5 separate regions of the Homo sapiens genome follow, and all the other regions are linked to region 1. Evidence: promoter capture Hi-C in 16 types of primary human blood cells and fetal thymus (Javierre and others, 2016). All regions are on one chromosome and are shown on one strand. The core of a region is centred on a gene start or on the middle of the fragment in contact, and the rest is flanking DNA. Distances in the headings are between cores, read along the strand shown. Region 1 holds the start of IARS1 (isoleucyl-tRNA synthetase 1). Region 2 has its middle 20 kb from the start of BICD2. Region 3 overlaps IPPK (inositol-pentakisphosphate 2-kinase). Region 4 overlaps IPPK (inositol-pentakisphosphate 2-kinase). Region 5 holds the start of LOC100128361 (a long non-coding RNA gene).

Evidence for each region. The method cuts DNA at HindIII sites, captures the fragments that hold promoters and counts their contacts. A CHiCAGO score of 5 or more calls a contact.
Region 2: a fragment that was not itself captured here is called in contact with the fragment with the promoter of IARS1 in region 1 in 1 of 17 cell types (naive B cells); the score reaches 5.4 in naive B cells.
Region 3: a contact is called between a fragment that was not itself captured here and the fragment with the promoter of IARS1 in region 1, in 9 of 17 cell types (M1 macrophages, erythroblasts, naive CD8 T cells and 6 more). The highest score is 8.0, in M1 macrophages.
Region 4: a contact is called between a fragment that was not itself captured here and the fragment with the promoter of IARS1 in region 1, in 8 of 17 cell types (erythroblasts, monocytes, endothelial precursors and 5 more). The highest score is 9.0, in erythroblasts.
Region 5: a fragment that was not itself captured here is called in contact with the fragment with the promoter of IARS1 in region 1 in 1 of 17 cell types (endothelial precursors); the score reaches 6.6 in endothelial precursors.

Annotation. Positions count from the first base shown.
Region 1 is chr9:92,292,447-92,298,220 of GRCh38, forward strand. It overlaps IARS1 (isoleucyl-tRNA synthetase 1), which reads right to left and starts at 1,251. Exons shown (of 34, transcript NM_002161.6): 1 at 1,165-1,251. It overlaps MIR3651 (microRNA 3651), which reads right to left and starts at 101; the gene lies at 12-101. SNORA84 (small nucleolar RNA, H/ACA box 84) reads right to left here and starts at 147; the gene lies at 15-147. NOL8 (nucleolar protein 8) reads right to left here. Exons shown (of 17, transcript NM_017948.6): 17 at 4,912-5,440. The coding sequence ends at 5,390. RefSeq lists an enhancer at 1,633-1,682. The HindIII fragment of the contact is 5,187 bases long and covers 1-4,732 here.
Region 2 is chr9:92,781,581-92,787,354 of GRCh38, forward strand. No RefSeq gene overlaps it. Among named protein-coding and RNA genes, the nearest start is that of BICD2, 20 kb to the left of the region's middle. The HindIII fragment of the contact is 8,618 bases long and covers 1-5,774 here.
Region 3 is chr9:92,662,904-92,668,677 of GRCh38, forward strand. The region is part of intron 1 of IPPK (inositol-pentakisphosphate 2-kinase); the gene reads right to left. Among named protein-coding and RNA genes, the nearest start is that of IPPK, 4.3 kb to the right of the region's middle. The HindIII fragment of the contact is 6,089 bases long and covers 1-5,774 here.
Region 4 is chr9:92,642,492-92,648,265 of GRCh38, forward strand. It overlaps IPPK (inositol-pentakisphosphate 2-kinase), which reads right to left. Exons shown (of 13, transcript NM_022755.6): 6 at 5,568-5,657; 7 at 261-319. Among named protein-coding and RNA genes, the nearest start is that of IPPK, 25 kb to the right of the region's middle. The HindIII fragment of the contact is 2,515 bases long and covers 1,114-3,628 here.
Region 5 is chr9:92,617,724-92,623,497 of GRCh38, forward strand. CENPP (centromere protein P) reads left to right here. Exons shown (of 8, transcript NM_001012267.3): 8 at 1-2,806. IPPK (inositol-pentakisphosphate 2-kinase) reads right to left here. Exons shown (of 13, transcript NM_022755.6): 12 at 1,763-1,842. LOC100128361 (a long non-coding RNA gene) reads left to right here and starts at 327. Exons shown (of 1, transcript NR_036505.1): 1 at 327-2,810. RefSeq lists a silencer at 3,058-3,328. The HindIII fragment of the contact is 3,558 bases long and covers 1,587-5,144 here.

The DNA of each region.
Region 1 (5,774 bases), core at 1-2,500:
CTATTCAGGAAGAATCATGTACCAGCGACCGGGCTATGGCAGCTGCTGAGGAGAAGCAGCCTCCATGCATAAATCACAGGATTGCTATGGCCCATCGAATCCACTGGAGAGCTGTCCATGCACAACAGCATCCAGCAACCACAGGGCAGGGACAGAGCAGGTTAACCTTGCACAACAACCTTGTTGTGCAGAGGGATGCCATCCCCTTTGCTTCCCTCTTATTATAATCCAGGCCCTTGACTCTTCGCTGCTCCACAACTCCTTCAGGTCACCTTAACCTCAACTTCCCGTTCAGCAATTTCGAGACCACCCTCCCTGATATTAACTACATATTATTCACATTACTTCATATTATTTTGCCTCAATATATTTTAGAAACGCACACTAAAACCATGTTTTGTTTAAAATTTCATAATTCCTTCCAGAATTGCTTCCCTTTTAAACTACTGTATTAGTGGTTCCAATATTCTTCCCATTACTTAGGCATGACATTTTTGAGTCACCCCTGACACTACTCAGAAGATACACACAACCAATTAATCATCAAGTCATGTGGATCCTACCTATAAGCCTATTTCTGTTCCCCCTTTTCATTCTCCTCTAAATCCATTTCTGTTTCTCCTTTTATTCTCAGGTCTTCATAATCTATTAAGTCAAATGTAACCTGAAAGTGGGACCGTCTCAAACGTTTCCTCAATTTAGTTATATCCTATTAACATAGACTCCACAGGTATACTCATGCAAATGTACAAAATGTGTATACAATGACATTCACCGAATAATTGTTTCTCCAGGCAAATAACTGAAAACAATCTAAATATTCATGGTGACTGAAGTAAATTACGGTACATCAATAAAATAAGTATCTCGCAGCCATTGAAGGTAATAAATTAAGACATATAAAAATACGTATTGCCTATACATAAAGTCACAGCTATATCAATTTATACTATGTATATCATTTTAAAAAGATTTTACTCATTTCAAACACTACCTCATTCAAAAAGGCGACCATAAATTCCTGAGGCTGGAAACGAACGAACGGCAAGCCCCGAAGAAACACGCTCTTTTAAAAATTAAATCTTGTGCTACTGTTTCGGGGTTGTAACGCGTGCGTGACCCTCGTCTTTGAGGGCCGGATCCTGCAGGGAAGAGAGGGCGTACCTGAGGGGCCTCGCGTGCCTGGACAGCCCCGCGGGCCAGCAAGCCTAAAAGCAACTCATCCGGCGTCCACGCTGCAACCGGGCGCACGGAGGTGATGCAACGCGCTGAAAATGCGGGATCCAGTGAAGGAGACAGGCTCCGCACCGGCCAATCAGTGCGCGCTGCCTGACACCTGCCAACAAGCCAGGCGCCGATTGGTCGCGCCGGACATGATTGCGCCCACTGGCTCGGATGGTGCGACAGTGGTGCTTGCTGGTTTTGCGCCTCCACGTGGAAAACGAACCAGCGCTGAGGGCGGCGCTGTGCGTGCTGCTTGTATCCGTTGCAGTAGTGTAGACCGAGGTCTCACTCGGGTTGTGGGCACCTCCGGGTAGGTGACGGCCCACTGGGAAGGGGCGCCGAGGTCGGGGCTCATGTTCTTCATCTTGTTTGCTTTTGTCAGTATTTATCTGACTGGACACTTCGTACCTAAATTGATAACGACAAACAGCAACTTCCGGAGAGGTGGCTTTAATAATTATACTTTTGGGCCCTGAGCCGCCGACCCCAAAGCCGCTTCTCCTATCATAAATGGCTACGTGAAACGATAATAACAAAAGGGAAGGAAGGGTCTGACAACCAGATTTAAAAGTTTTATTGTATTTTACTTAAAATGTTTCCGGTAATGAAAACATTGCACAAACGATTTTTTTTTCTTTTTTTGAGAAGCGGTCTCATTCTGTCGCCCAGGCTGGAGTGCAGTGGCACGGTCATGGCTCACTGCAGCCTCAACCTCCCCGGATCAGATGATCCTCGCACCTCATCCCTGGCCAAGTAGCTGGGACTACAGGCTAGCGCCACCACGCCCGGCTAATTTTTGTATTTTCTGTAGCAACGGGGTCTTGCTATGTTGCCTAGGCTGCTGTCAAACTCGTGGGCTCAAGCGATCTGCTTGCCTTAGCCTCCTTAACTGTTGGGATTACAGGCATGAGCCACTGCACCCGGCCTGCATACTTATTATCATTGCTATGAGTCGGCTTGGTACCTTACTGATCTGCTGGTTAAAATCTGGAGCCTTGCAAAGGGCAGTAGGCCTCGGGCTTTGGCCCCAGAGCCTCTAAAGGAAATTCTGGATCTTGCCAAATTGGGAGTAGTTCCGTAGCTGCCTATTGTATCCGTTAGAGGGATATAAAAAATTTATCTGGCCTAGAATAGGTAGAATGCAGTTTCTTATTAAGTTTAGGAACATTTTGATAGTCTGTTCAGCATATATTTAACTTTACTTACCGTCTTGGCCCTGTGTGAAGGATTAAAGTGGTTTCATGTCCTCCATCATGGGTAACTCAGTGTTCTGACTATACTCACATAACGTACATAATTTAATAGCTGCAAATCTTGTTAATTAACTGAAAGTATTTGGAATGTGTTTGAAGTTTTCACATTCCTCACGTTGCCACCTTGTTCAGTTCATTTTTGTCACCTATCCAGAGAGCCCAGATAGAGCCAGACAGAGGGCTCCTGGACAAAGGTGAGGTAGGCCAAGTCTAATTATTTAAAAATTTGATTGAGAAACATTTATATTAATAGTACTGTTGTGTTGGAAATAATGCTCAAAATCCTAAGGAAATTGAACATTCAAACAAAGGATTTTCAGCAAAGCAATTTTACTTCTGCGCAGAGGGGTGCTTCTCCTTGGCCAGTCACCATGAGAGCACACCAGAACAAAGGGGCACGAGAACCTTTATCCCTGACACAAACCCTGCCCCTGTACCCTTTCTCCATTGGCCGGAGTTGGGCCTCACAATCTAAAATAACCACAGTTGGCTAAACATTTTAACTTTCTTTAGATAAGGTGGGCACGTAAGAGAGAGGGGAAAGGGGGAAGGGCTGTCTGTAATGAGCTAGAGAGCTAGTCTTCTCTTCGGATAAGGAATACGAGCTGGTACTGATAACGCCTGGTACTGTGGCCTGTCTAGGCATGTAACAAAGGCAGAAAGGAAAGAGGAGAAAAAGGGAAGAGGGGGGCACTGTGAATTAAAGAATAAAGGATTGATCAGGCTATTTGAAGAGAAACCTCATCATGTCCCACAGTTGGAAGGTATGGGAAGACTAAGTCTAGAAAAAGTTAAGCAAATGAAAAAATTCCAGCAAAAAAGTTAACTGTAGTCAAAATATATTACTTGGACTGAAGAGGTGAATAATTTTTTCACCTTTTCAGAATATGTAGTGTCTGGAAGTGAAAAACCAAGAAATCAGAGCATAAGCATGTTAGGTAGAAACATGGAGGTAAATACTAGAGAAATTAAATTGCTGAAGGTGGTTTCATCTGGGGAGCAGGAACTGGGGGGTGGGCAAGGCTACTTGATGTTACTTATTTGTCTGCTTGTGAAACATGTGCCGGATTTAAATTACGGCCACACATTCTGACACTCCTCCCACTAAGAAGTGAGGATCTGTGTCCCCTCCCTTTCAGTCTGGTTGGGCTGTGTGTCAGTTTAAACCTGTAGAATACAGTGAAGTGACTGAGCCGGTTTCTGGGCCAGGCCTTAAGAGACAGGCAGCATCTGCTTCCTGCCTCTGAGAACACTTGCTCCTAGAGCTTTTTTGCTATGCTGTAAGGAAGCCCATGAACAGGCACTGAGTGGGCCATCTTAGAAACAGATCCCGTAGCCCTAGCTGAACCACCCCAGTGAAAGCACACAGCACAGATCAGCAGTCCCTAGTGAGTGTTGACCAAATTGCAGTATTTGTGCATAAAATAAATGATTGTTACTGAGATGATTTGCTATGCAGCAATAGAAAATAAGGTACAAATGTGATCTACATCAAGAGAAGGTAGAAAGTGTGAATTATTTATCCTGCTGCTTAGTTGTCCACACTCTCCTTGAAGTCTGAAGTTTTGGAAACCTAGGAATCCAGAATTACTCTTCAAGTTATTTAGTTCCTTGGACCCTTACTAAAAAAACATAGAGCATAAGCCCTAGGGTCATAATGGTTAACACACCAGATGAAATCCCAACAGTTAAGAGTTTATATTCAGCATAGGTAAATCAATAAATACTAATTTTAGGTACACACATCATGGCTTAATGATAGTCCCTTGGAACTATATAATACTATTTCTTTTTTTTTTTTTTTTTAAGATGGAGTCTCACTCTGTTACCCAGGCTGGAGTGCAGCAACATGATCTCAGCACTGCAACCTCTGCCTCCTGGGTTCAAGTGATTCTCCTGTATCAGCCTCCCTAGCAGCTGGGATTACAGGTGTGAGCCACCACACCCAGCTAATTTTTGCATTTTTAGTAGAGATGGGGTTTCACCATGTTGGCCAGGCTGGTCTTGAAATCCTGACCTCCTCATGATCCGCCCGCCTTGGCCTCCCAAAGTACTGAGATTACAGGTGTGCGCCATCACGCCCGGCCTATGTAATACTATTTCATACAGAGCCCATTTTGATAGGAGACGTATGTCTTGAAATCTAGGCAGGTTGGTTTATTTAATGTAATGTTAAATCTGTTTCCCTATTTGGGCTCAGGGTCCTGACTCCTAATTGTGACTACCTATCTTTCAGGCACTTGGTATTTTTCATAAGCTTTTAGTCTAACTAGAATTTTGGGATTGGTGTACATCTAGATGTTGTTCCTTAATTCCTAGAGGCAATGACAAGATAACTGTATTTGGCTTCCTCTCCTGGTCCTCACAGAACTCTTATATGATGTTGGTCTGAAATGTCCTATATTTCAGTTAACCATTCACCAAAACACAAGTATAAAACTCAATGTTGACTTGTAATTTATCAGTTTAAACAAAAATGACAAAATGGAAGGTGTATTTGACATAATCAGAAATAAAATTTCAAATAGCCTATAATTCACACAAAGCCTAGGCTGGAAAATACAAGTGCTTTGACTCATTTATTTAAAAAGGCTTCATATAAACCTTGCATGAGAAGATGTCCATTAGTTACTCAGGATAGAGGGCAAAGAGATTATATACAAAAAGTATTTTCAAGGACTATCTTGTTCTTCCTTTATAAGAAGTTGAATTTAATTTTTGAAGTAATTACTTAGGAAGAAATGCAGAGGAGTTCCACAGAAAAAGATGGCAACCAGAATGATATTCCGTCAGCCAGATTTTTAAAATTCCTTCACTCTGAAATTTCTTCTTTGTCAGCTAAAACTGTTTTCTGGGTCAGTTTCCTTAGGTGAGCCTTGTTCACATTCAGTATCAAAACCAGCTGACATTTATTATTTTGGTTTCATTTTCCTTTTTGCGTCTTTATGTTTCTTTCGACAATCCTAGGAAAAAAAAAAGACTTGGTTAGCAATAAACAAATTGTTTTTAAGATGTTCAGTAGATAGAAGTAAAACAGGTTATTCTCACTGTCAGGGCTGTGGAAACCTATTTTGAAAGTGCTCTTTTGAAATGAAGAGGGGATATTGGCATTTTTGGCATTAACTGTTTATAATGGGAACTATAATTCAGTCTTTAAAAATCTGATGCTTTCGTGTTACTTAATAGGCTTGGCTGGATTCTGAGACCAGTCACTCAATTGAGCCAGTCTGCAGTCTCCTCACCTATACCATTCATGAGTTCCCTTCCAGGACTGTAATTCTAGATAGGTAACATGTC
Region 2 (5,774 bases), core at 2,117-4,616, 490 kb after region 1:
TGATTTTTCCAGTTTATACAGATAGAAATATGGAGAATATGTATTGTCACAAAGCAGAGATTCTAGACTCAGTGTTGTGGCTCAGATGGATGGAAAGAACTCTAACTGTTTGGTTGGTTAGTTGGCTGAAACATGAACCAAAAGGTGGCCTGCACTAAATGAAGTTGAAGTGTCAGAACTGCCTTGGTGTATTCTAGTAGAAGGTATCCAGAGGCTTAGGGAGACTGGAATGGTAGAGTGGATTTCTTATGCAAGACTGGCTTCTCTGCCCCTGGTGGGTTCAGAGAACATACCTTTCACCATGATTGTGAGAAATAAATTTGTGAGGGAGTCCCGGCATCTTTGAAAACCTGTGTGGTTGCTTTTATCTGTAGGTAAAAATTACAGTGAGAACTGCTGCCACTGAGTTGGGAAACCTAAATCCACTTAGGTAATTGGATCCCAAGGTGGCAGAAGCCAAGGGGAGGCACTTAATTGCCAAAGGCAAGGTGGGTGGGGTTGCTATAATGAACAGCAGAATCAAAGCAGCAATCAGAATAGTCTGACTCACTCAGACCTATGAAGTTGACTAGTTGATGATTGTGTTGCTAGAGGTGAAACAGACAGGAAGCCTACTACATTCTTATTTGATCTGCGTAAGCAAAAGAGTTCTAGGTCAGGTAAATGGAAGTCTAACTTGAATTACCAGAGCAGAGTCATGGTCCCTCAACTAATGCCCAGACTCTGAACCCTTTGAATGGAGAATCCAGGTCACCTTGAAGAAGGACTGTGCTACATTGTCAAAAATTTAAAATGGTTTATCTTTCTTACAGCCTTCCCTAAAGGGACCCACAGCTTTTCATCAGGGTGACTGCATTATGGGAAGGGAAATAATCAGACTTTTTGGGGATTGCTGGGCACTAGCTCTGACGTGACATGAATTCCAGGGGAACTAAAATGTCACTGTCACCCATTAGTCTGAGCAGAGTTTTATGGAGGTTAGGTGATCAATGGAGTTTTGGCTCAGGTCCTTCTCATAGTGGGTCCAGCGGGCCACTGAACTCATCCTGTGGTTATTTCTCCAGTTCTAGTATGCATAACATTGGAATAGACATGCACAGCAACTGGCAGATTTCCCATATTGATTCTCTCACCTGTGGAGTGAGGGCCACTATGGTGGGAAAGGCCAGGTGGAAGTCACTAGAATTATCTCTAACTAGGAAAATAGTAAGCCAAAAGTGTACTGTATCCCTGGAGGGATTGCAGAGATTAATGCCACCACTAAGGACTTGAAAGATGCAGGGTTAGTGATTCCCCTATCATCCCCCATTCAAATCACTTCTTTGGCCACTGTAGAAGACAGATGGGGCTTGAAGAATGACAGTGGATTATCTTAAGTTTAACTGGTTATTAACTCTAATTGCAGCTGTTGTTCCGACGTGTTTTTGTTGCTTGAGCAAATTAACACAACCCCTGGTACTTGGTAGGCAGCTATTGATCTGTCAAATGTGTGTTTTTTCCCTCAATAGCTGCTCACAAAGACCACCAGAAGCAGTTTGTTTTCAGTTGGCAAGGCCAGAAATACACCTTCACTATGCTACCTCAGGGCATATTACCTCTCCAGCTCTATGTCCCTCTCTGCTTCTGGTGACGCCTGCCTAGGTCTAAGGGGTCTTGTGCAGAAAGTCTCTAATGGTCATCACTGGGACAGCTTTTCCATACTCTTCTATCATGTGGCCTTGTCTTCCACCCTAAGGGATCTTGGTACATTGTGGGCAGGGCTCTGCTGACAGTAATGTTTTGATAACCAAATGGTACTTATGACTTAGGACAATTGCTATTGTTACAGAAACGCCAGGGTTCAGTCTAGGTCCTGTTGCTCACCACACAGGAAGCCAACCACTGAGACAAGTATTGCCAAGGAAGAAGGCTTTAATTGGGTGCTGCAGCCGAGTAGATGGGCACTCAGTCTCAAATCCATCTTCCTGACTGACTAAAACCAGGGGTTTATATAGCAGGCAAGAAATGTAACAATGTGTAAGAAAACAGAAACTTGGGAAGGGCCAGGAAGTGATCATGGTGAATGAGGCCTCCCTCATCTGGTGTCCCTCACACTCCCAGGCTGGAGTACAGTGGCACGACCCCGGCTCACTGCGACCTCTACCTCCTAGGCTCAAGCAATTGTCCTGCCTCAGCTCCTGAGCAGCTGGGACTATGGGCGCATGCAACCACACCTGGCTAATTTTTTTTATTTTTTTATTTTTAGTAGAGACAGGGTTTCACCATGTTGGTCAGGCTGGTTTTGAACTCCTAACCTCAAGTGATCCGCCTACCTCAGCCTCTTAAAGTGTTGGGATTACAGGCGTGAGCCACAGTGCCCGGCCTATGACCATTTAACAAGCGCAAACTATAACAGAAAGCCTGGGATGGAATGCCAGGGGGCTTTCTAATTTACTTTTATGTAATTCCATGGTGATTAGAGAATACATTTTGTATGATTTAAATTATTTTAAATTTATTAAAACTTGTTTTATGGCTCAGAATATGGTCTATTTTGGTAAATGTTCCATGGTCACTTAAAAATAATGCATTCTGACCTGGTGCGGTGGCTCACGTCTGTAATCCCAGCACTTTGGGAGGCCGAGGCTGGCAGATCATTTGAGGTCAGGAGTTCAAGACCAGCCTGGCCAACATGATGAAACTCTGTATCTACTAAAAAGTACAAAAATTAGCCGGGCATGGTGGTGCACACTTGTAGTTCCAGCTACTTGAGAGGCTGAGGCAGGAGAATCGCTTGAACCCGGGAAGCAGAGGTTGCAGTAAACCGAGATTGCGCCATTGCACTCCAGTCCAGCCTGGGCAACAAGAGCATAACTCCGTCTCAAAAAAAAAAAAAAAAACGCCGGGCATGGTGGCTCACGCCTGTAATCCCAGCACTTTGGAAGGCCAAGGCGGGCGGATCACGAGGTCAGATCCAGACCATCCTGACTAACACGGTGAAACCCCATCTCTACTAAAAATACAAAAAATTAGCCGGGCGTGGTGGCGGGCGCCTGTAGTCTCAGCTACTCAGGAGGCTGAGGCAGCAGAATGGCGGAACCTGGGAGGCGGAGCTTGCAGCGAGCCGAGATCGCGCCACTGCACTCCAACCTGGGCGACAGAGTGAGACTCCGTCTCAAAAAAAAAAAAAAAAAAAAGCATTCCTACTGCTGTTGGGCGGGGTATTTCATTAATGTTAATTAGATCAAGTTGATTGATAATATCATTCAAGTCTTCTATGTCCTTGCTGATTTTTTTCTATCTATTCATTCTTTTAATTGTTGAGAGAGGGATGTTGGAATCTCTGATTATTATTGTGGATTTTTCTATTTCTCCTTGCAGATTTCAAATGATATCATTTTCATCTGCCTGAAGGACTTTTTAAAAAAATTTCTGGTCGGGTGCAGTGGCTCACACTTGTAATCCCAGCACTTTGGGAGGCCGAGGTGGGTGGATCACGAGGTCAGGAGATCAAGACCAACCTGGCTAACATGGTAACACGGTGAAACCCCGTCTCTACTAAAAATACAAAAAATTAGCCGGGCGTGGTGGCAGGTGCCTGTAGTCCCAGCTACTCGGGAGGCTGAGGCAGGAGAATGGGGTGAACCCGGGAGGCGGAGCTTGCAGCGAGCGGAGATCGCACCACTGCACTCCAGCCTGGGCGACAGAGCGAGACTCTGTCTCAACAACAAAAAAAATTTTCCTATACTACAAGTTTGCTGGTGATGAATTTCTTGACTTTCACCATGTCTGAAAAAGTCTTTATTTTGCCTTTTCTTTTTCTTTTTAGGGTCTCCCTCTGTAGCGGTCTCCCTCAGCCACCGCGCCCAGACCATTTTGCCTTATTTTAAATAATATTTTAGTTGCTTATTGAAGGTTGATTGAAGGTTGATAACCCCATCCTTAGCCCCCAGTACATCAAAGATGTTGCTGCACTCTCTTCTGTCTTGCATTGTTTCTGAGGAAAAATTTGCTGTTTCTTATTTTTGTTGTTCTGTAATACTATATCTTTTTCCTCTGGTTGCTCCTTTTTTTTTTTTTTTTTTGAGACAGAGTCTTGTTCTGTTGCCCAGGCTGGAGTGCAGTGGTATGATCTCAGCTCACTACAACCTCCATCTCCCAGGTTCAAGTGATTCTCCTGCCTCAGCCTGTAGCTGAGATTACAGGCACTTGCCACCACACCCGGCTAATTTTTTGTATTTTTAGTAGAGACTGGGTTTCGCCATGTTGGCCAGGCTGGTCTCGAACTCCTGACCTCAGGTGATCCACCTGCCTTGGCTTCCCAAAGAGCTGGGATTACAGGTATGAGCCACCATGCCTGGCCTTCTCTGGCTGCTCTTAAGATTTTTCTCTTTATCACTGGTTTTAAGCAGCAATTTGATTATGATGTGTTTGGTGCTGTTTTCCTCTATTTTATGTTGCACTTGAAGTTGATTGAGCTTCTTGGATTGAGCTTCTTGGTTGATTGAGCTTCTTGGTTGAGCAGGGTTTCTCAACCTCAGCCCTATGGGGCCTGGGGAGACTGTCCTGTGCACTATAGGAAATTTAGTTGCATTCCTGGTCTCTGCCTACAAAAGGCGGGTAGTTGTGACAACCAAAAATGACTCTGGACATTGCCAAATGTTCTCAGGGGGAAAATAACCCCCAGTTGAGAACCACTGGTTTAGAGTTTTTTAGATCAGGTTTGGAAAATTTGGGGCTGTTTCTTCAATAATGTTCCCTTTCTCTATTCTCTCTTGCAGGAGTTCCAACTACATGTGCATTAGTCTGATTGAATTTGTCTAACGACTCACTGATGCTCCATTAATTTTCTTAAGTCTTTTTAGTGTTTCATTTTAGACAGTTTCTATTACTATTTCTTCAAATTCACCAGTCTTTTCTTCTGCATTGTCTAATCTTCTGTTAATCCTATCTAGTGTATTTTTCAGCTCAGACATAATGTTTTCACCTCAAATAGTTTGATGTGGATCTTTTTAAAATTTCCTATATTCCTGCTAACATGTTTGATTTTTGTTGAACATATGGAATACAGTTATGATAATTATTTCAGTGTCTTTATCTGCTAATTCCAATATCTGGGTCATTTCTGGGTCTATTTATATTAATAGATGTTTCTTCTCATTATGAGTCTTAGTTTCCTATTCCTTTGTGTGCCAAACATCATGGATTTTGCCTTGCTGGTGCTGGTTCCTTTTGAATTCCTATGAATATTATTGAACAGTGTTCAAGGATGCAGTTAAGTTACTTGTAAACAGCTTGATCTTCCCAACTGTTATGCTCTTAAGCTATGTAATGTGAGACCAGAGCAATCTTTATTCAGGGACTAATTTCACCACTTCTGAGTACCCTATCTGATGCCCTCTCTGATGAAGTAAGAGGTTTTCTTCTCTGGCTGGTGGGAGCAGCGGGAACTATTCCTGTCCTGTGGATTTCTGACGTTTGTTCTCTCTGTTCCTTTTTTTCTTTTTCTTTTTCTTTTTTTTTTTTTTTTTTTGAGACAGAGTCTCTCTCTGTCACCCAGGCTGGAGTGCAGTGCTGTGATCTTGGCTCACTGCAACCTGCACCTCCCAGGCTCAAGCCATCTTCCCACCTCAGCCTCCCGGGTAGCTGGGATTACATGTGCCCACCACCACACCCGGCTTACTTTTTTTGTATTTTTAGCAGAGCCTGGGTTTCGCGATGTTGGTCAGGTTGGTCTCGAACTCCTGAACTCAGGTGATCCTCCCACCTTGGCCTCCCAAAGTGCTGGAATTACT
Region 3 (5,774 bases), core at 1,558-4,057, 370 kb after region 1:
GCAACGTGTGCCAAGGGGCCTAATTCACCCAAGAACCCAGCCTGAGCATCAGAAGTCCAAAGAAGTGTGTACGAAGACTTTCGGCAAAGCCCACCCACAAGGATGTCCAACGCAACACTGGGAACACGTGAGCACCCTTCAAGACATGCATGAGGATTTTCTACATATTTGTGCTATAAAATTAAGTGAAAAAAAATCCCAAAACAGAAACAGATACGTAGTGTTGTTAACTACCCAATAAAGACAAAATACAGTCATGCATCACATAACAACACTTGGGTCAGTGATGGACTGCATGAAACAATGGTGTGTCCCATAGGATTATAATACCACAGTTTCTACCTTTAGATAACAAACACTTCCCATTGTGTCCCAATGGCCTGCAGTACTCAGTCCAGAACCATGCTGCGCGGGTCTGAGGACTAGGAGCCATAGGCTGCCCCACACAGCCTGGGCATGGGGCAGGCTCTACCATCTAGGTGTGTTCATATGGCAACAACATCACCTAACAATGCAGCTCTCAAAATGCATCCCTGGTGTTAAGCGATGCTTGACAATAAATAGAAAAAGACTAGAAGAAAGTGCACCAAAGTGTTAACAAAACTTGTTCTCTTCATGGAGAAATATTGGATGTTTTTCACTTCCTTCCTTCTGATATTCTATATTTTCAGAGAGAAGAAGCAACAATTGGTGTTAAATAAAAATAGAAGGCCACAAAAACCCCAATACATTAAAAGGGACACCTGCCAATGGGAAGCCTGAGGGGGCACCTTATGGGTGGAATTAAAGCTACTAACTACAAGAGCCTTTCAGGACAGATGAGGAGAGACTTTCCCGCCACCCACAGAGGACTCACTCTGGAGGGGTATCACCCACAAAATCAGCTGTTCCAGAGATCTGTCAAAAGACAAGGACCAAGGTCAAGTCTTCCATCAGGCTGAGGAGATAACCTGAAGCTGAGATCAGACAACTTTCATGGGAAGGGAAGACAGAAAAAGACAACAGCAGCAGGGGTCACCCCTCAGGATGCCTTCTAGAAGCAATGCTCAGCTCCAGCTTCTTCCGAATTGTGAAGATGACTCCCAGGCAGGGGCCATGGGGGATCCCAAATGTCCAGTCTCAAGAGGCTGCCCTCCCTGTAGACCCTCCTTAGCTTACCCCCGCAGCTCCAGCTCCAGCTCTGTCCCAGCCAGAGAAGGCTGCCCGGGGTCTGTCAGTCACCAGGGGCAGGAGGTGCCGAAGTCCACCTCTGCAACCCAGAAAGGGATGTCCAGGATGCGTAGGACCGTGGAGGGAACAAGAAGCAGGGCTTACGGTACTGGGCTCCAACAGGAAGCGCTCCCAAGGGTGAGCTTCGCTTCACTGGGAATGTATGGCCTCAGATAGAAATACAAAGCACATTTGACACCGGATGAAAAGTGACATCACCAAGATGCCTGTGGAGGATGGGAGCCCAGTACTCTGCAGGCAAGAGCAGGGAGGCCAGACTGGAGACAGCCTGGGGTCAGGGCGCAGTAAGTGCTGGCCCCTTGTCCAACCTGTATGGGGCATGTCCTCAAGCCTCGGCAACTCCGTCCTGACCTCATGGTGTCCTCTGCAGGACTGAAGCAGGCACAGGTGTGGGCCATGGGGGAGGTCACACACCCACACAACTCTCAGAACATGGGGAGGCCTGTGGGGATAGGCACACCTCGTGCATGGGGCTGACCCCTATAGGCATGGAAAGCCTCACTGCCTGTAAAGGGGAAGCAGGGCTGCCTAGAGGCCCACAGTGAGGGCCACAGGGAACTGTGAGCAAGTCCGGGCCCTCAGATCTCCCAACCGCTTGGCAACAAGGCAGGAGTGGCCGGGCCCTAGGCACAGCCTTGCTCTCTGCAGACACAGTAATGATGCTTTTCTCACCCTCCTGGATCGCAGCTCTCAGAAGACACAGGAAGTCACTGGGGAGCTTTGCTCTGACTGAATTCTGATGCAGAAGGAGGCTCAGTCAGGCAGAAGAAAAGTGGCTGTGTGACCTCAGAAGGTGTAAAAGTAGGAGGTGAGCCAAGGCCAAACCAACAAACCCCCGTGCACGAGAGGCACTGTCACAGGCTGCAGTCACCAAACAGCAGACCTCATCACGCAACTGCAGATACAAAGAAAGGAATAAACAAAGAGCGAGCCACAAGCACAGCTCTCCAATGAGCTCAAATGAGACAAGAAGGAACATCACCAGGAAAGAAGCCACATCAGCTGCGTCAGCCTAGAGCGCCACTAAAAATCCCAAATGCAGAATACATCACTAGTTTAAACAAAATGCTAGCAGTAACAGAAAGCTAAGACTATTTCAACTAGGTCCAGCTAAAAATTGTAAAAGGGAGCGACCAAGGGCTTGGGCACATGTTATACAGTCAGAAAAAAACAGAGAACATAAACGTATGTGCTTTCAGCATCCACAGTAGGAAGTATGGCCCAGTTAACAGTCCTGCAGGACTGCACAATGGCTTTCCACTTAACCTGTTCTAAGTGATTCTGTAATGGATATCTTTGTGTATAAGATCTTTATTTACGTTTCTAATTATCTCCTTAGAACGGACTACTAGAACAGAAATTAGTAAATCAAAGAGTATAAACTTTTTAAAAATTAATCTTTTTTCCTGAGTATCATACATATCCATTGTAGGAAATTCAGAAAATATTTAAAAAACAAAAAAAAGTAAAAGTGATTCGTGATACTATCAGTTACAGCCACTTAGAACATTTTCATCTATTTTCTTCTAATCATTTTGTAATTATAACCACATCATGCATCTTCTTTTGTAACCTGCTTTTTCTACGTAACTGTAAACACATCCTCATATAAAGGACTTAATTCATCCACTACAAAATAATCATTTAAATTATTAAAATATACAAAATCATGCTGTATGGCAAAAAAAATACATATATATATGATCTATGAACCAGAAATCTTAAAACACAAGATGAGAAGAGAAACAGTAGAAGGGCACCTGACCGCTTGAGCTTCACACCTTCAATGCCCAGACAAATATCCCAAGCACTAAACAGGTACCAAAGGGACACCAAAACTCCCCAGGCAACAAAACAATTTGCAGAAATGATCTGAAGCTCTCAGACTCTCAGAAAGGTCACGAAACTGGAACAACTGGAAGTGAGCAGCTTTGTCCACACATGTGATCAATTTAGTTGGCTGGTAAGCCAACTAAATGGCAAAGTCTTTCCTGTCACCTCTGTCAGTAAGAAGGAAAACATCATGACAGCTTAGTGTCATGACAGGAGTGGGCCACCTTCTGCCCCTGCTCCCCAAGGCTGAGGTGGTCCGGAAGGGGCTCAGTGCCCCAGACAAGTGCATGATCCAGATCTGAAGACACCTAGGAGATGGAATGACAAACCAAACCTAAAGTGACCTTCATAGGACAGGACACTGAGCCAAAACCAACAAGCTGAAGGCGAAGGAGGCAGGCGCAGGCGTCACACAGGAGAGAAATCCTGCGGCAGTGCATAAAGGGGCAACCTGTGGACTTCACTAACCTGAGATGTGGCCACTGGCCCAAGTACTGCACCTTCAGGCTGCAGCGAGGAAACTGTGCCCAGATGGGAAGTTCCCTCATCAAGGAGCCCCCACAGGGTCAGTGTCTGGAGCTCCAGACACACACCAGGGAACATGCCAGGCTGCCGAGAGCCTCTCAAGCATGCCACAGGGTCCACACCACATGAGGCAGAGAACACCATGGTTACCTGTGCCTGGGAAAGTTCAGGTGCACAACCATCCCAAACAGAGGCAGAATGCAAACTGACAGGCAAAATGAGAATCATCCTGGGCCGTCTCTGAGTGGAAGGGCCTTGGGGAAGCTGACCACCTTCTGTCAGGAACACCTTTAAACGCCTCTCTATGGCTGGCCTGCTATTTACCTTCCTGCCCACCCTGGGCACAACCTCCCACCCTCCTGTAGCCCACACCTAGTTCCTCCATCCCCAGGCCTCATTTCCTACAAGTCCTGCGCTGCACAGAAGGCTCTCTCTCATCCCATGTTTGCATACTGCAGGAAGAACATCACTGTGCTCCTTCTAGTGCTGACAGCCAATGACCATGCAGATCTCCTTACCTAGGCCCTCGGCTCCTGCAGGACGAGCTCAGGCTGGCTGAAGGCGCATCATGTTCTCATGGTAGAGGGGATGGGGGTCAGCACAGGACTCATTAGGGACCTTTCAATTCTGAGAGAAGCTGATGTCCTCTCAGAGAAAGCAACCCTCTCCTTACCTGGAAAAACTTGGCAAAGGCCTCCCTCTCTCTTGGACTGAATGAGGTGGATCTAAGGAGTACAGTAGCAGGGTCCACCTGCTCCCACACCCGGCTGGAAGGAGGCTGGGCGCATGCTCAGCATCCACAAGACCACGGACTCCTCCTATTCTACCTCACCCATCTCTTATCCCACTGACACACACCCTCTGCTCGAACTCAACAGGTCCTAAAAAGCTGCCTTCTGGGAATTGCTCTCTCTCCTCCTCGGTCCACAGCCTGAGCAAACAGGCCACAGGGCAGAGCTGGTGGGCTAGGCTTGGTTCAGGTTACCACATCAGGCACAGGCTCCATCTGACCTTAACTTGATGGGAAACATTTTCTCATGAGACTATGTGCAGTGATAATCTTCAATTTCAAATGATGAGCTAAAAACAACAACCAAGCAGGAATGAGCACAGTAAAGCAAGTTTAGATTTAAAATAAAAAATGAGGCTGAGTACAGTGGCTCACACCTGTAATCCCAGCACTCTGGGAGGCTGAGGCGGGCGGGTCATTTGAGGTCAGGAGTTTGAAACCAGTCTGGCTAACGTGGTGAAATACAAAAAAATTAGCCAGGCATGGTGGCAGGCACCTGTAATTCCAGCTACTTGGGAGGCTGAGGCAGGAGAATTGCTTGAACCCAGGAGGCAGAGGTTGCAGTGAACCAAGATTGCGCCACTGCAGTCCAGCCTGGGAGACAGAGCAAGACTCCGTCTCAAAAAAAAAGAATGAATAGCATAGGTCTAGAACAGCCTGGTGGCTGTAGGTAAATTTGAAAAGGTGAAAGAAAAAATAAACAATCAACCTGGCGTGGTGGCTCACGCCTGTAATCCCAGCACTTTGGGAGGCTGAGGTGGGTGTCACTTGAGGTTAGGAGTTGGAGACCAGCCTGGTCAACACGGTGAAACCTCATCTCTACTAAAAATACAAAAATTAGCTGGGCACGGTAGCGCATGCCTGTGATCCCAGCTACTCGGGAGGCTGAGGCAGGAAAATCGCTTGAACCTGGGAGGCGGAGGTTGCAGTGAGCCGAGATCGCGCCACTGCACTCCAGCCTGGGCAACAGAGTGAGACCCCGTTTCTAAATAAATAAATAAATAAAAATAAACAATCATTACAATCAGAGCTGTGCAACAGGGTAGGGCCAGGCTGCCCTGGAGATGCCTACTCAGGGAAGGGGGTGGACACATACTTGTCTGGAACGTGCAGAGAGATCCAAGTGCCAGAGGCAACTGCGTCAAAGCCTCTGCTCTTTCAACATGGGTGTCCTTTTGCTCCAAGCCTGAAACTTGCTGCTTCATCTGCCACTACTTTTGAAATTTAATGTATCAGCCCTCACTAAAGAAAAGTCTTAGGTTTACCTAAAATGCAGAGATACATCTAATCTTACCAAGGAATTGGAAGATTAGTATTTGTTTTGGGAAAGGATTCAGGGGATCAGCACAGTAACCCAACAACAAAAGGACTCACGCAGAAACATCCCTCACTTTGC
Region 4 (5,774 bases), core at 1,121-3,620, 350 kb after region 1:
AGAAGACAAATCTAGTCACAATTCAGATGAGGAAACAACCAAAAGTGAGCAAGCACGTCAAACTGTGAGCACAGAGACAAGGCACGGAGCACAAAGCCCCAGGTGTCTACAGCGCTGATGGCAAAAGAGAGCCCTGAAGACAGAACAGGGCCTTCCCTGCCTTCCTACCTCACGAAATACCCCCCACCAGGCACTGGCCCCCGCCCTACCCATCTCCAGGGAACCTGACACAAGGGGGCAAAGGAGAAGTGTTCTCTTACCCTGAGTAGAGATCAAGGGGACAGTATTTGCTGATCTGCTTCCACTTCCCAGTTGCTACCTGTGAAAACACCAACAGGAGGGCATGAGGTGACTGGCGCTGGTGACTGCACTGTGCCAACTGAACACACAGAACAGCATCAGTGATGAAGACAATGAAGACGAGCTGCAGCCTTGCCCCGGAAAAGGTGCCACCACCTTTGCAGGTGCACATCACTAAGTGGCGGAGGGAGCCACTTGACTTCCATTCAAGGAAACCTTGGCCCCATCTGTGAGACATGATGTGGCGTGGCCCCCAGGCCAGCCCTTCACAGGAGCAGGGAAGAAAGTGGCAAACACCTTCAAATTACATGGCTAAATTTTGGTAATGAGAGTAACAAACCTTCAGAAGTTATAATATCCAGTAACAGGGAAGGTGTCCTTAACAAGAAATTTCATATTGCCAGTGGGAAGATAAGTTGGCATAACATTTTGAAAGGCAACTTGCTGGTATCCACCAAACTTTAAAATGCTTATGTCCCCTGGCTCAGCAAATCTACAAGGAACCTAGAAGAAGTAGCACAGGGCAAAAAGGTACAGACACAAGAATGTCCACTGCGGCCTTACTGCTAATAGCAAACCCTGAAACCAAGAGAGACACTCATCAGTAGGGAAATGACTAAATAAATCACAGCCCATCCACTAGTGGGACCAGCACATAGCAAACAATTTATTGAATGAAGAAATGCATAAATGATATGCAGCCACTACCAGAAAGAGGTAGAGTTAAAAGTCACCAAAATTTATTCAAGGAAAAAAGCAACTGGCAGAACAATGGATACAGTGTAATGTCAATTTTGCTTAAAAAAAAAAAAAAGCTTATGTGCAAATATCCATGCATATATCCAAATATGCACTGAAAAAGCCCTAAAGAATATATCACAAACAATCCTCAAGGATTAAGTGAAAAAAGCAATTAGACAAAGTACATATGGCATGATCCCATTTTTGCTTTGCAAGGGTGTGTGTATGCACGTACAGGCATGTAAACATTAGAACATGTGGACAGAGATCACTTCATTTCCACCTGAATTACATGCATATTTTTGTGGGCACAGGAAGAAGTCTGGAAAGATATGCAAATATATCTGACAATATGAGTTACCTGGGAAGGCAGGTAATCCAATTCATGCCATGTCATATGTTACCAGTTATATGAGCAGGTAGTGCTTTATAGTAAAATGTATTTCTTAAACATCTGTCACATATGTTGAAAGTGAATGGTGACCATGAAAATTGCATCCCAAGGGGCATGGCTCACATAACCGTCTTTCCCCTAAGAGCTTAGATAGTAATCACACCACAAAGAAAAGAAGGGGTGATGTTGGTGAAATAGTGGAGCAATGACCTCCAGAAATTCTCTCCTCTGTAAAGGCAATCAGAAAACTGGTTAAAAAAAAATGTCAGAATCAAAAAGTTTTGAACTCTGGAAATTGACCATAGACTTGCAACAATCCAGGAAGCATTTATTCAAGAAAAACAGCTAAATCTAAGCAAGATCAGTGAGCTTGTTGGCACTTTAAATGCCCTATTCCCATCCCTGTATCTCTAGCTCCAAGGTTCAGAACCTTGAAAATGAACAGCCGCAATCACAGTGAAAACCAGCTGCCCAGCAGCCACAGAGGACGCAGATGAGGGCAGGACATCTCCAAAGCCTCGTTCTCAGACAATCACTTATTTGACCTGTCTCTGGGTTCCCGGAAAGATCACACTTGCAAGCGTTCCCGGAAAGATCACACTTGCAAGGCTGTCTTCACTGACCTGGCTCAGAACTCACCCGTGCAGGAGGCCTTTTCCCCATGGGCATTTGTCAAAAACATTTAGAGGCAATTGTTTAACTTCATGGTTTCCTTGGAAGGAAACCCACTAGCTGCCCACTAAGCTAACTGAGCAGACTTTATTGGCCACATATGACAAAGAATACAGACTTCACAAAATTAGCGCAGAAAAGTCCCTAAACAAACAGTAACAACTACAAGAAGCAGCAATAAAAAATCCTGGAGAGGGAGTAGAATCTAATTCCAGAGGGGCCACATTATATTATTTCAAATGCCCACTTTCAACCTATCATCACAAAACACGCAAAGAAACAAGAAAGTATTGCCCATATACAACAAAAAAAGCAATCACTAGACTGCCCTGAGGAAGCCCAGACACTGGACTTACCAGACAAAGACTTCAATCAACTATTTTAAATATGCTTAGAGCTAAAGGAAACTAGGGACAAAGAACTAAAAAGAACAAGGAGAATAATGTCTCAACAAATAGAGAATATCAATAGAGAGGTAGAAATTATAAAAAGGAACCAAAAAGAAATTCTGGCTGGGCATGGTGGCTCACACCTATAATCCCAGCATTTTGGGAGGCTGAGGTAGGCAGAGTGCCTGAGCTGAGGCGTTCGAGACCAGCCTGGGCAACATGGTAAAACCCTGTCCTACAAAAAATTCAAAAACTAGCTGGGCATGGTGGGGTGCGCCTGTAGTCCCAGCTACTTGGTGGGGGCTGAAGCAGGAAGATGGCTTGAGTTCAGGGAGTCAAGGCTGCAGTGAGTCATGTTCACGCCACTGCAGTCCACTCTGGGTGACAGAGCAAGACCCTGTCTAAAAAGAAAAAAAAAGAAAGAAAGAAATTCTTTAGTTGAAAAGTACAGTAACTAAAATGAAAAAGTAACTAGAGGGGCTCAAGAACAGGCTTGAGTAGGCAGAAGAGAAAATGATTGAATTTTAGGATAAAGACCAAGAGATCTACACCTAGACACACCATAATCAAACTGTCACAGGACAAAGCCCAAGAGAGAATCTTAAAAAGCAAAAAGAGAGAAGTGGCTCATCCCATACAAAGCACCTTCCCTAAGATTAACAGCTGATTCCTCCATGGTTTCATTAGAAACCATGGAGGCCAGGAGGAGGCAGGATCATGACATATCCTCAGTGCTAAAAGAAAGATTGCCATCCAAGAATTCTATATCTACCAAGACTATCCTTTGAAAATGAAGGAGAAATTAAGACATTGCCAAATAAACCATAACTAAAAGAATTCATTGCTAGAAAACCTACCCTACAAGAATTACTAAAGGGAGTCCTTTTGGCTGAAATAAAGGATACTAGATAGTAACTCAAATCCACAGGAAGAAATAAAGAGTATCAGTAAAGGTAACTACATAGGCAAATATAAAAGAAGGTATAAACACATTTTGTAATTCTTGTTCCTCTATATAATTTAAGAGACAACTGCATAAGGTAATAATTACAAATCTGTATCACCCAGAACATCATGTAGAAACATCTAATTTGTATCCCAATAACAGCACAAAGGTTGGGGGAGGGAGCAAAGCTTTAGAGGAGCAAAACTTTGTCTATGATTGAAATGGAGTTGGTATTAACCTGAACTAGACTGTTCAGGTTATTATCTTAAATTAACACTCAGAGCAACGAGGCAGAAAGTCAACAAGAATGAAGGCTTGAACAACACTATGAACCAACTAGACCGAACACATCTATAGAAAATCCACCCAGCAACAGCAGGTTACACATTCTGCCCAAGCAAACATGGAACAGTCTTGAGGAAGAACCTTATGTTAAACCACAAAACAAGTCTCAATACATTTTAAGAGTGAAATCATGCAAACAATGTTCTCCAAATACAGTGGAATGAAACTAGAAATCAGTAACAAAAGAAAATTTGACTCACAAATGTGTAAAAAGTAAACACTCCTAATTATCAGTTCGTCAAAGAAGAAAGCAAAAGAGAAATCAGAGAATGAATTAAGATAAAATGAAAACACAACATACCAAAATGTATGGGATGAAGAGAAAGCAGTTACTTAAAGATTTATTAGAAGAATGATCTTAAATGAATAACCTAACTTTCTACAATAAAAAGCTAGAGGCCGGGCACGGTGGCTCACACCTGTAATCCCAGCACTTTGGGAGGCCGAGGCAGGTGGATCACGAGGTCAGGAGATTGAAACCATCCTGACTAACATGGTGAAACCCCGTCTCTACTAAAAATACAAAAAATTAGCCAGGCATGATGGCGGGCGCCTATAGTCCCAGCTACTCACTGCACTCCAGCCTGGGTGCAGAACGAGACTCCGTCTCAAAAAAAATAAAAAAATAAAATTAGAAAAAGAATAACACACTAAGCCCAATCCAAGCACAGGGAAGGAAACAGTAAAGATTAAAGTGAAGACAAATGAAATAGAAAATGGGGGAGAGGGGAGCAGAAAACTGAATAAAACCAAAAGTTGTTTCTTTGAAAGATCAACAAATATGACACAATCCTGTGGCTAGACCAAGGAAAAAGAGACAGAAACCAAATTACTAAAGTCAGATATGAAAGAAGGGGACACTACTACTGACCTGTATGCCATCACATTAGATGAAAATGGACAAATTCCTAGTAACACACAACTACCAAAAAAACCCACTCAGGAAATAAGAGAATCTCAACAGATTGGTAACAAGAGACTGAATCAGTAATCAAAAATCTTCTAACAAAGAAAATCCCAGGACCAAATGCCTTCACTAGTGAATTCTACCAAACATTTCAAGAAGAATCAATACCAATACTGAAACTCCTTCAAAAAACTGGAGAGTGAAAAGAAAATAATTCCTAACTCATTCCATGAAGCCAGTTATTACACTAGTACCAAAGCCAGACACCACTAGAAAACTACACACCAACATCCCTTATGATTCAAAAACCCTCAACAAAAAACTAGCAAACTGAATTCAGCAGCATATAAAAGTATTATACACCATGAGCAACTGGGATTTATCCCAGAAATGCAAGGTTGGTCCAACATGCGAAAATCATGTAATATACCATATTCATAGAAAGAGGAAGACACCTTGCTTTGAAGTGATAAAAATGTCAGCAACTAGATAGAAGTGGTGATTGTACAACCTTGTGAAGAGACTAAAACTGAATTATATATTTAAAAGAGTGAATCTGGTGAACACGGGCCGGGCGCAGTGGCTCACACCAGCACTTTGGGAGGCCAAGGCAGGTGGACTGCATGAGTCCAGGAGGTGGAGGCTGCAGTGAGTATGATTGCATCACTGCACTCCAGCCTGACAGGGTGACAGAGACCCTGTCTCTAAATTTAAAAAATAAAAAAGTTGAACATGAATCACTTTGTGAAATAAAATGTCAACTAAAAATATCCATATTTTCTTTTACTCTTCTGAAAACTGTGTGTGTCCATGCCTCAGCCCAGATCCCCAGCGTGCAGCTAGAGTAGCCCACAGCTGGGCATTGGCTCTCACCTTGAGGTGCTGGTGCATGCAGTATCGACAGACCTTATGCTTCATCTCATGCGTGACATCACTCGAGAAAGGAATAAACCCACATTTTGGCTGTAAAATAAACAAATAAGGAGGAAAAATATTTAGGAAGAAATCACATACCTCTAAATAGACATATCACTGACTACAAGATAATGAGTGCAGCAAGATAATTAGGCATAAATGGCC
Region 5 (5,774 bases), core at 2,116-4,615, 330 kb after region 1:
AAGCCAAGGCCGCACACTGTGTTTCAAATGGGAGGTCGAGAGGAGCATCAGGGTTTAGGCCGGGAAGCTGTGGCAGCTCTCTCCACAGTTCCAAATTCCCAAAGGGACAAAGCTCTGCAGCGACAGGAAGGCAGATCCAACTTGAGACATTTTCCTTTATGACAGGGCAGAAACAGTAGTGCAGAGCTGGAGAAGCCTTTATTTTAGGGGGTGTAAGAAGTTTAAATGTGGTCAATCTATCTGTGAGCTGCAAATTAGTCTAGGGATCTAAATTTAGTCTCAGGTCTACCAGGTATCTCAAGACGCCAAGATGACTCATGATAAATCCCAGCCTTAGTTTGTCCCTAGGCCTCTAGAGCACCACAGTTACTGGAACTTCACAGGTGCGGCCACTGCGCACACCTTCCTGGAAGCAGGCCCAGCCCCACACGCCATGTTCTCGGAGGAGAAGCCTTCTCTGAGATCCTCTCCTTTTGTTGAGAAAGGCCTGGCTAGAGTGCTTTGTGCAGGATGGTTCCAGTGCCTACACCCTAGGTCTGAGAAGCCACATGGCTCAGTGCCTTCAGGACATGCCCTCCCCTCCCCTCCTAGTGTCGTTTCTGCTGAGCAGCTGGTCGTAAGGACCCGGGCCTTCAGCTTTCCCCGCATGCTGGCTTTCCAATTTGACATCACTGACCAGGCACTAAGAGATTCCCAGGTGCTAGACGAGGTGAGTAACATGTCTGTCCTTCAGCGGCCTTTCACAGCCCACCTAAGGGCACCCTGCATCCAAGCACATTTCCATTGCCCAGCTGCATCCTTGGTCGGGGGGCTGCTGAACAGTGGTATCTTCGTGGGTTTTCTCTCATCGAACACCACCAGCTTAATCCAGTTAAGGAATTCCTCATAACTTAGCCCTGTAGGTATTTCCTTAGGGGATAACAGGAGTTTTCAACTAAATAGAACAACCTTTTTTCTACTTCAGTTAGCCCTATAATGTTCCTCAGTATTTCATATTGGAAAGTAAACAATTCTGTGCCTGCCAGGGAACAGGAATCCTGGGAACTGTTTAGTTCAAAAGCACCGGGAAAGTGAGTGGCTGGCAGCCAGCAACCAAGGTCATCTTGACCCAGGAACACATGTTAGAAGAATGTGGAACATTCCGCAAATACTGGGTGCAGGGTTTAGCACCCCTGAAGATCGGTGATGGAGATGCTGTCTAACGACTATGAGATTATCAGTTTCATCCCGAATTCCCAGAAACAGAGGGGACTGGACAAAACTAGTGACATTAGGGAGAGGGGCGGCACATAGGCTGGTTATTCAGAAGAGGAAGCAGAATGAATGCGCGCCTCACAGGCTTTCAAATGACTGTGGTGGTAAAAAGGCAGGTGCGCCATGCTGCCACTGTGGGAGACCGAGGAACAAGGGCCACAGGTACCCACACATCTCAGGGGCTGGCTTTCTTTGAGGGAATGCAATGGGCAGCTCACTGTCCACATTGTTTCTGAGCTCTTGGGAGTATTTTCTTAGAAAACAGTAACTTTCAATGTACTAACAATCCTTTTAAGTTATTCTCCATAAATCTGTCTTTTGACTGAATTACAAGCTTCTAGAGGGCGAGAGTTAGTAAGCCCCATGATGTCACATAGGCCAAGGAAGTTATGTCACTCCGCCATGGAGTCTCTAAATATGGGGAAACCAACTATCCTATTAACAATTCACCAACTGTCCATAAAACCCCGTTAGACCCAGGCTGCATGCCTTGCAGTGGGGGCCTCACCTGGCATCCTGCAGACAGGGAGACAGTGCAATCATGATGGAGCAGTCCTTGGCAGTCATGGCGACGCGGTACTGCTGCACCTGCAGGGGCGGGAAAGATCAGCTCCAGGTCACACAGGAAGCCTCTGCCCCCCCACACAACCTTCCTTCCCAGTAGCCAAGTGTGGGAACTGCTTCCTGCCTCAGAACCTGAGGGTGGGATTAGGAGCGAGGGCCACGGTGAGCACGGGCGTCAGGAGGTCGCCCTGTGAGAGCACCTGGGCCAGCCCTCAGTGCCACGGGGCTGCTCAGAGGCCAGCACCGCCCCCTGACCTCTCACGGCAAGCAGTGTGGGACCCCGACTCCAGACCCTGAGACGGATGATCTGTCTTCAGCAAGGTCACCACAGTCGGCCTTTGGAAGGAAAAGCAGTAAGCCACCTGAGCCCCGCATGTTGGCCACACTCAGAGTATCAAGTGAGTATCACTCGACACCTGCAAGGAGAGCGCAGGGGGTGTTCAGCAAGGCATCGCTTAGAACGACATTCCCTCCGGAACATCATACAGCCACCAGAGACAACGGCAGACGGCCACCCTTCTACAGGCTGTGCATGTGTTAACTTGCTCCACCCTCACAGCAGCCCAACAGGGCAGCACGGCCGGCGTCCCACTTTACAGACAAGCAACAGACACAGACATCACTTGTCTGTCATGCCCTGCTTGTCAATGGCAAGGCAGGGACTCAAACCCGGTACGCTGGCTCTGACATTTACACTCTTCAACACATGCTCCAAGCTATGTGGGTCTGTCCATACTGACCAGGGACAGCTCAACACACACCACACTGTCAGAGTCGACATACGTAAAGCTGTACATGTGCACATGTGTGTGACGCGGGCAGGGAGAAAGGTGAAGGACAGGCACCACAATGCTCACAACTGTCTCCTCTACAGAGCAGAATGTGAGGCACTCTCTCCTCTTCCTTCTTTGGACTTTCATATATGGTTTGCATTGTTTTAGATGGCATAGCTCTCGCTTTCACAAAAATAAACAGTTGTAAAAGAAAAGGAATTGGGCCTCACACATCACTGGCCTCAATATTTGTACTGATGACAGACCATCATCTCCTGTCTCCCTTTTAACCACTCCCCTCAATTGCATATAACCTGGAGGATCTGGCGTTCGAAAACATCCAAGCTGCACTTTCCAAAGGGCAGGACTGGATGGGAGGGAGTGGGGAGAACCTCAAAGCACGGATTTAGCTCAGGCCCACACACTATTCTTGGGGCCTGAGAAAACCTTTCACAGCAGATGGAAATGAGCAGCTCCTATCCTTACACTCTATTCAGTTAGCTAGAGTACAAATGGATCAAAAGTTGATTCTTAGGAAACTAAACTCTTGGTGGGAATGATTAAGGGAGTGTCCTAGCCCCTTCAGGCTGCTATCACGAAATGCCCAAAACTGGTAGCTTATAAACAACAGAAACTTGTTTCTCACAGTTCTAGAGGCTGGGATGTCCAAGACCAGGGCGCCAGCAGATCTGCTATCTGGCGAGAGCCGACTTCCTTATCCACAGCCCTCTTTTCACTGTCACTTCACATGGTGAAAGGGGCTGGCTTGCGCTCTGGGGTTTCTTGTATAAGGGCCTGAATTCAAATCATGAGGGCTCTACCCTCATGACCTAATCACCTCCCAGAGGCCCCACCTCCTAACACCATCACCTTGGGAGTTGGGATTTCAACATATAAATTTGGGGGGGTGGGAGGGTAAAACATTCAGACAGTAGCAGAGAGGGAGAGAAATCAAATATCAGACATCTGGAATAAAAGAGCATACTTCAAATCCTATAAACATGAAAAGATAATAAAAGAACATTACCCAACAACATCATATGCCAAAATTCTGAAAACATAGATAAAACAAAAAATTTCTAGAAAAATACAACTTACTAAAATTTGAAACTTTCCTACAAAGACAACTATGGGGCCTAGCTGATTTCACAGCTGATTCTACAAAGCATTTAAGTCAGAAATAATACCATTCCTTTTTTTTTTTTTTTTTTTTTTTTGAGACAGGGTCTCGTTCTGTTGCCCAGGCTGGAGCACAGTGGTACCATCACAGCTCACTTACAGCCTCGACCTGCAGGGCTCAAGTAATCCTTCCATCTCAGTCTCTCAGGCAGGTAAGACTACAGGTATGCACCACCATACTCGGCTGATTTTTAATTACTTTTATTAGAGACGAGGTCTCGCTATGTTGCCCAGGCTGGTCTTGAACTCCTGAGCTCAAGTGATCCTCCCACCTTGGCCTCCCAAAGTGTTGGGATTACAGGTGTGAGCCACTGAACCCAGCCGTTGTTAATCCACCTCTTCCAGGCAACAGAGAAAGAGTAAACAGACCATCTTTTAAGTGTTTTACGGGCAGGTCTAGGCCTCGACACCAAGGCTGAACACAGACATTACAAAAAGAGAAAGCACAGTTCTTATCACTCATAAACATCTGCCAAAATCCCTAAACAAAATATTAGCAAACCCAATTATCATCATACAGAAAAAGAACACATCACAACAAATTGCATAATTAACCACGTTAACAGAAAATATTTTGGTCATATGATCATCTCAATAGAAATAGAAAAGGCATTGATAAAGTTCAACATCTGCTCCTGATTTTAAAAAATCCTCTTAATAAATCAGGAAAAGAAGGGAACAAACTTCTTTAATCTGATGTCAGCCACTTAAGGAAAAAAAAACCTACATTAAACAATTTACTTGATGGTAAAATGCTTTTGAGATTTGGAACAGGACTAAAATTCATACTATCACAAATTAACTACATAAAGTGAAGTAAAATAAAGAAGTGAAAGGTATAAGGATTGGGAAGGAAAGGGAAAACATCAAATTCACAGACTACGATTACATATAAAGAAAATCCAAAAGAAACTATAATCGTTAGGATTAATACAAGTGAGCAAAGTTGATGTATGCAAAGTCAAAATAGAAAAACCAATCACATTACTGCATAATCAAACACTTTTAAAGTAAGATCTTTTTAAAGATGCCATTTACATCTAAAACCATCAAATATCGTGAAATTAATATAAGACCTCTCTGAAGAGAACCATAAAACATTTTTATCAGAATAATATATATATATATAAAAGTTTAAATGTCCATGTTGGAAGACTCAGTATTGTATAGATTTCAACACTCATCATTTTAACGCTACACCATGAAAATCCCAGTGGCTTTTTTTTTAGTTTTTAATTTTTGTGGGATAGCAGTTTTGTTTGTGCTTTTCCTGCAGAACTGAGTGAGGTGATTCTCAAATTCATGTAGATATGCAAAAGGTCGAGAACAGCCAAGATATGCTTGAAGAAGACAGAAGGATTTGTCAGATATCAAAGCTTGTTATGACTCTGTAGTGTTCACAATTTCTGTGACGACAGGATAATTCCATTTGAAAAGAAAATAAAACCCCACCTCCTGCCATTTCAAAAATCAGTTTCAGACAGTCACCCAACAAAATGTGAAAGACAAAACAATAAATTTTCTAAAGATATGGCAGGAAAATATCTTCAGGACCTTAAGGCAAAGAAAGACTTCTTAAAAGGGAAAAAGACTGGTAAATTAGGCTACCTTAACATTATGAACCGTTCTTATAAGGACTCCATTAAGAATCAAAAGACGGGCCAGGCACAATGACTCACACCTGTAATCGCAGCACTTTGGGAGGCCGAGGCAAGCGGATCACAAGGTCAGGAGATCGAGACCATCCTGGCTAACATGGTGAAACCCCGTCTCTACTAAAAATACAAAAAATTAGCCAGGCATGGTGGCGGGTGCCTGTAATCCCAGCTACTCGGGAGGCTGAGGCAGGAGAATGGTGTGAACCCGGGAGACGGAGCTTGCAGTGAGCCAAGATCGCGCCACTGCACTCCAGCCTGGGCGACAGAGCGAGACTCCGTCTCAAAAAAAAAAAAAAAAGTCAAAAGACAAACTACATAGGCTACATAGTGGGAAAAGATACCTACT